Linked DNA regions of Homo sapiens: region 1 is linked to region 2. Evidence: promoter capture Hi-C in human tissues and cell types (Jung and others, 2019). All regions are on one chromosome and are shown on one strand. The core of a region is centred on a gene start or on the middle of the fragment in contact, and the rest is flanking DNA. Distances in the headings are between cores, read along the strand shown. Region 1 overlaps GALNT2 (polypeptide N-acetylgalactosaminyltransferase 2). Region 2 holds the start of TAF5L (TATA-box binding protein associated factor 5 like).

Region 1 (3,410 bases), core at 63-2,562, 470 kb after region 2:
TTTTCTTAGCCTTCAAGCTTGATAAGAATCTAGTGGATATTAACTTAAAGGGCACTGAACATGATAATAGTGTCCGTCAGGGGGAGAAATAACAGAAACCAAAAGCAGAGATGCACACGTGGCCGTTTATTTAAATCAAACCTGAAGCAGAAGGAGGAGCATTAGATCACAGTTGTGTAAAGGCAATTCTAGGAGAAAACGATGGACTGTAGCTAGCTTTCTGCAGTCCTGACCTGGCCAAGGGTAAAACTAGATCGGCTGCGGGCTGTGTTCCCTGGGCTTCCTGCTGCTTCACTCCTGGGAGGCAGCACAGAGTGGTTGTTACGGGGAAGGTTTTCATAAGTGCTGTGAATCCACCCTGGGCCGTTTACTGGCCTTGCACATGTGGGCAAGGTACGGTCAAGCTCAGCATGATGACATTTTAGCCAATGACAGATCGAATACCCAATGGTGGTCTCATAAGATTATATACTGTATTTTTACTGTACCTCTGTGTTTAGATACACAAATACTATTATGTTATAGTTGCATACAGTATTCAGTACAGTAACAAGCAGTCCAGGTTTGCAGCCTAGGTGTGTAGTAGGCTATACCACCTCGTTTTGTGTAAGTGCATGCTATCATGTTGCCACAATAATGAAATCACCTAAGGGCACATTTCTCAGAAGGTATCCCTGTCATTAAGCAACACATGACAGTACTTAATCTCTCTAAGCCTTAGCTTCATCCCTTCTTAAATGAGGGTAATAATACTGTTTCGTCCACCTGTGTGTGTGTGTTTGAGATAGGGTCTCGCTCTGTTGCCCAGGCTGGAATGCAGTGGCACAAACATCACTGCAACCTCGATCTCCTGGGCTCAAGCAATCCTCCTGCCTCAGCATCCTGAGTAGCTAAGAATACAGGTGTGTGCCACCATGCTGGCTAATTTTTTTTTTTTTTTTTTTTTTTTTTTGGTAGAGATTGGGTTTTGCTATGTTGCTCAGGGTGGTGTCAAACTCCTGGCTTCAAGTGATCCTCCCACCTTGGCCTCTTAAAATGCTGGGATTACAGGCATGAGCCACCATGCCTGGCCTTATTTTTATATATTTAAGAACATATGCTTTCGGCCGGGGTGGCAGCTCATGCCTGTAATCCCAGCACTTTGGGAGGTCGAGGCGGGTGGGAGGCGGGTGGATTACCTGAGCTCAGGAGTTTGAGACCAGCCTGGCCAACATAGTGAAACCCCCCTCTCTACTAAAAATACAAAAAAATTAGCCAGGCGTGGTAGCAGGCACCTGTAATCCCAGCTACTTGGGAGGCTGAGGCAGGAGAATCACTTGAACCCGGGAGGCGGAGGTTGCAGTGAGCTGAGACTGCATCACTGCACTCCAGCCTGGGCAACAAGAATGAAACTCCGTCTCAAACAAAAACAAAAACACCATATGCTTTCCCAACACATCTGGACAGCTGATATTAAAAAAGGGTGTATGTAGTAGAATTAAAACTATTACAAGAGAAACAGAGCCAGACAGTTTGGGGAAGGGAGAAAACAGAGAGGTTGTGGGGGCACTTACCTTGAATCTTCTTAGGTCCCTTGTGTGTTGTTTTGCCTAATCCTTCCCACACGTCTGCAAAGAGGATGATCTCCCCACGTAGAGACAGGAAGCGGATTCCGATACCTCGCCTTCCCTGTGTTAGATGTGCCGTAGCTCCTACTGAGGGTGAGGATTAATTGGAGATGATGCAAGTGGACCTCTAAGCACGGGCCGCGATGATGTCGTAGTTCACGGTCACAGGACTGTCACTGCTGTTACAAACTGGCCCTTCTGCTCCGAGTCTGCTGGTCCTCATACGGTTCCTTTCTGTCTCTGGTTGTGTTGGTTAAGACAGAGTAGCTGCAATCAGGGAGAGTGTCGACCCTGACCCCAACAAGCAGGGAGAGCTAGTGCAGAATGTGGGCAGTGGCAGCAGACCCGCGGGGCTGTGACACTGTCCTTTCTGTGGCTTGGGTGGACTTCAGGGTGACCCATCTAGCAGAGTAAAAATAGTAACCCCACATGCTGACCATGTACCCCCTGCTTTCACGCACTTTTATGGGTGAATTCACCTATCCGTTATAGAAACTCCATGAGGCGTTTTTATTATCCCCATTTTACAGATGAAGCTGTCAGGGAGAGAGGTTGAGTTGCCGGCAGTCTCACATGTAGAAGTGGTGAAGTGGGAATTCAGACCCACCCCTGCGGGCTCCTCAGCCAGGCCTGCTCTTAGCATCCCAGTGTGCTGCTCTGTGACGAGCCCCAGTATTGGGATCCACTCTCCAGATGAGGTTTGAAGAGTTCCGAAGTGGAACGTCTTTCTGGGTTGGCTGGCTGTAGAGGGGTTGGTGACTCCAGTGTCCTGTGGTGGTAGACAGTCTCCAGCCAAGGGCATGTACTTCTCACCTCCCTGCCTCGTGAATCTGGTCAGTCTGGTGTCAAACTTGAACCAGTAGACTGCTGTGGATGTGACACTGGGCGTGGTGCAGGCTCTGTCCTTGAGGGGCCTGGTAGCCCCACCTGGGTCCCCTGGGGCCCAACTGCCATGCTAGAAGACGTCCAGGCTGCTCTGCTGGAGAAAGAAACCGTGTGGGGTTGCCTGGAGGGTGAGACATGTTGGAGGGGAGGGAGGGAGAGGCCAAGGCCTCAGACAGGTGAGAGAGCCCCAGCCGCGAGGCACCTGTGGTCTCACCATGGGACATAAGAACTTGTTTAAGCCATGACGTTTTGGGAGGGCTTTTGTGCAGGAATGGCACCCGGAACTCCTGCTTCCCATGAACCCAGGGCTGTGGGCCTGGCTGCTGGGAGTGAGCCATTTGCTGGGCCAGGGATTTGCCCTGCTGCAGGGACTTTTCTAACCCAGCCGGGCCAGGCTCACCTGGGGGCCCTTTTGATTTTGAGAGGACGCATACCTCAGCCTGCATTTTGGTGTCCTCTTGCTAGCACCTGCCAGCTGAGGTTGAGCCATGGTGGACAATTTTTCCTTTTAAGACGATTCTAGTTACTGAACCAAAGATATTAATTATGTGCTTATCTGTGGTAATTACAACTAAAGCATTCTTTATCACTGCAGCTTAGTCATTTGCTTACGTGATTTAAATGTGATATATGTTAATATGCATATCTCGTCAAAGGGAGTCATGGGGGTGGCATGGTTAGAGCATGCTGGCTGAGGGCAGGAGGCCAGAGGTGTCTGCGTCTCCCTCGTCCATCTCGTTCTCCCCTCCCGCCTTCCTTCCCCTTTCCCCTCTCTCCCTTCTTTCTGTCCCACCAGGATTTCTTTAAGGTTTGTGTTTCATCACCATCATCCTGTTTGAAAGTTTTTTTTTGTTGTTAATCCATCAGTCTTTCTCAATTCATAATTAATTTCTTCCAACCTCCCTCCCTGCTCCCATC
Region 2 (3,093 bases), core at 161-2,660:
TCTACTGTCACCAAGCTCTATCCACTACATTATGCTGTTCCAAAGTTTAAAGATGTGGCCAGATGCATTTAACCTATTAAGCACAAAACTCCCTTTCCTACTCCCCCTTCCAAGTAGAGCTGTGACCAGGAACTGGGGCACAGCCTCCGTGTCCTCCCCTACATCCCCAACTCAGGTGTTGGCACACTTGAATCGCCTGATATAAGACACGCTCCGCACTTAATGTTCCTCTCAGCACAGCTCCCAACTGCTTGTTAGCAGGAGTCACCATTCCGAGATTCCAATCTGCAAGGTCAGTTTAGGTACAGTAATTTAAGACAGACACTGCATGGGACTGGCACTTACCTTCTGATCCCAGAACCACAAAGACTGCGAGATCCGCATTACAACGACTTTCACAACTGATGGGAGAACTGCATGTAGCGTTCCTGCACTCCACTTCCGCTAAGTCTAAAATGACACCACTGTTTCTAACCATCCACTCACTTCGGACCAACGCCTTATCGAATACATTTTCAAAAGCCTGGCAGCTTCGCGAGCTGGAGGTGGTGAACCCGTCCCACACCATGGGCGCACCAACCTTACCTTGCTGTCATGAGGCAACGAGCCCCGAGAGACACCCTTGCAGGTAAGCACTCTCCTGCAGCAGCTAGTCTAACTCTGGCTCCCCCGTGTCACACGCGGAGATCGACTCCACACCCACCCACGCACGATCACCATGTGCAAAGTTGAATCCCGACTTCGCCGCAAAGACATTTCCTTTTCCCCTACATGCAAAGGAGCTGTGGAGCCGTGCTCCCTGCTTGGCTGTCGGGCACTGGGATACCTTCCCCGCGGGCGCCCGCCACCTCCTCCCCGAGCCCGGCATCCAACCCGCAGGACCCACCCCTGCGCAGGAACGCGACGCCAGTCCAGGTGTAGCCGCCGACTGCAGGCCACGCCGCCGGCCGCAGCCCGGGACTCGGGAGGCCGAGGGCGGAGGCGCGGCCGTCGCGCCCGCGCAGAGCCGCCCGCCGCCCCCCAGCCCCGCCTCCCGCGCCCCACCCCCACCGCCCGCCGGCGGGAGCCAAGGCGCGCCCCGCCGAGGCCCCACCGCCCCGGCCCCCGCCCGCCCGCGCGCGCGCGCGCCTCGCGACCCTCCCGGCCCTCCCCGCCCGTGCTCCCGGCACTCACTGAACATCCCAGGCGGCTCCGGCTCCCCCCGCCGCCGCCGCCTCCGGGATCGGGTTGCTTCCGCCTCCGTCGTCTCTGCCGCAGGGTCTCACTCCGACGGCCGGCTCAGCTGGGCCCCCGCGCCCCGCGCCCCGCCGCCCCCGCCGCCGCTCTGGGCGGCCGCTCCATGACTGACTGACACGGAGCGGGCCGCGGGCTGGGCCGCTCGGGCCTCCAACGCGCAACCGTCTCCGCCAATGGGCGAGGCGCCTCGGCGCTCGGCTGGCGACGCCTGGCGTGCGTGCAGCCCCTCCCCGCTGCGCCGCCGGCGTCCGGCGGAAGGAGCGCGGGTACCGGTCCCACGTGGTGGGGACGCGGGACCCGTACAGCGGCCTCCGCCGCACCGGGACAGCAGCCGCCGCCGCTGCCGCCGTCCTCCCCTGTCTACCCGGAGCTGTCTCGAGCTGAGCCCCCTACCGGGCCGGATCCCGAGGTGAGTCCCCCACCTGCGGTCAGCCCCTGCGGGCAGCCAGGTCCCGAGGTGAGTCCCCCCACCCGGGGCTGGTCCAGAGGAGATCCCCCTACCTAAGGCCGGGCCCAGATGGGGGGCCCCCCAACCCTGCCCAGTTCCGGTGCCGCCAGCAGACTCTGGGCTGGAGCGGCTTCGGCACGCTCCATTCGCGAAGGCGAACTCCCTCCTGGCTCCTAGCTGCTCTCCCCTGGTTCTTGTTGCTTGGTCTCTTTCTGCTGGGCAGGGAGTGCTGGCAGGGCTGTGCTGTCCGCCCTGGACTTCGCATTGCCCGGTAAGGGCGGTTGGAGGCCCGGAGAGCCGAACTCTGGCGGAGCCGGGGAGAGCATCTCGGTTGTCTTTGTAGCCAGTTCAGCAAACACCTGTTATGCACTTTGTAGCTGTCGCGATGGCGGTTCTATGGTATTGAACTTAGAAAGTCAGGCATCGTTGAATTCGTTTTGGACATTTTGACAAAATAGGAAAACTGACAGCACTTGACGTTCTTGTTCTCTGCAGTAGAGTGAAGGATAACTTAATTTCTAAAATGAAAACGTCTTAACGTTCCTTTTTACTATAACTTTTAGGAAACTCAAAGCCAAGTTTACCCAGTTTAATAGTAACTGTAGGTGTTTGGTATGTTTGCTACCCCCGAGATTTCATGGTTTTTTGTTTTCTATTTTTAGTCTTTTCCTTGTGCAAGTATCTCTTGTAGAGTCTTTTTTGAAGTGTATGTGCGTTGTAAATTTATACACGACTGAATAAAAGTGTTAGTGGAAGGTTACTGTTGCAGCTGAAATAACTGTATTCCTTTGGGGTTTTCTTTTTCACTTGGAGACATATTACTTTCTCCGGATATTGCTTATGTATCTTTTCCTCTTTCAATTTGAAACCATGTATGAATGACTCTTTCCACAAGTAATGTAATCACTGATTTTGGCCTTGTTGAATTCCTGAACACTCACCTTTGTGGAAGTGATGTTTGATCATAGCTGGAATACATATAGTCCATCTTCTGTGTGTGCAGTCCATCTTTTGCTTGCTTTTGTCTGAATTTCCCCCAGAAAATTCTGGAGTCAAGCATCTTGTATGTAGATTTACCCCGACAAATCTGTTGATTCATTAAAAACTTTTAAAAGAATACATATTAGGTAAACAAGATACAGTACTGCAATACTGTTGGTTTTCTGGTGCCTGCTCAGTCTGACATTGTTATAGTATTTTTTTTCCCATTGTTTTTAAATTTTAGATAAAGCCTAGCCATGGCTGCTGTTTATTCTGGCATTTCCCTTAAGCTTAAAAGCAAGACAACTTCCTGGGAAGATAAACTAAAACTAGCTCACTTTGCTTGGATTTCTCACCAGTGCTTTCTTCCAAATAAAGAACAAGTAAGTTTAATGTGAAACTCATATTTTTACAGTCTGTCAAGATAA

The links. Contacts are between HindIII fragments. The study calls those that stand out against the background at their distance.
Region 1: a fragment that was not itself captured here is called in contact with the fragment with the promoter of TAF5L in region 2 in 1 of the 25 tissues and cell types used here (dorsolateral prefrontal cortex).

What each region holds. Positions count from the first base shown.
Region 1 is chr1:230,093,239-230,096,648 of GRCh38, forward strand. The region is part of intron 1 of GALNT2 (polypeptide N-acetylgalactosaminyltransferase 2); the gene reads left to right. Among named protein-coding and RNA genes, the nearest start is that of GALNT2, 28 kb to the left of the region's middle. The HindIII fragment of the contact is 6,338 bases long and covers 1-3,410 here.
Region 2 is chr1:229,624,712-229,627,804 of GRCh38, forward strand. TAF5L (TATA-box binding protein associated factor 5 like) reads right to left here and starts at 1,411. Exons shown (of 5, transcript NM_014409.4): 1 at 1,174-1,411. It overlaps URB2 (URB2 ribosome biogenesis homolog), which reads left to right and starts at 1,536. Exons shown (of 10, transcript NM_014777.4): 1 at 1,536-1,645; 2 at 2,910-3,048. The coding sequence starts at 2,923. RefSeq lists enhancers at 320-369, 2,030-2,109 and silencers at 860-1,049, 1,140-1,839. The HindIII fragment of the contact is 5,407 bases long and covers 1-3,093 here.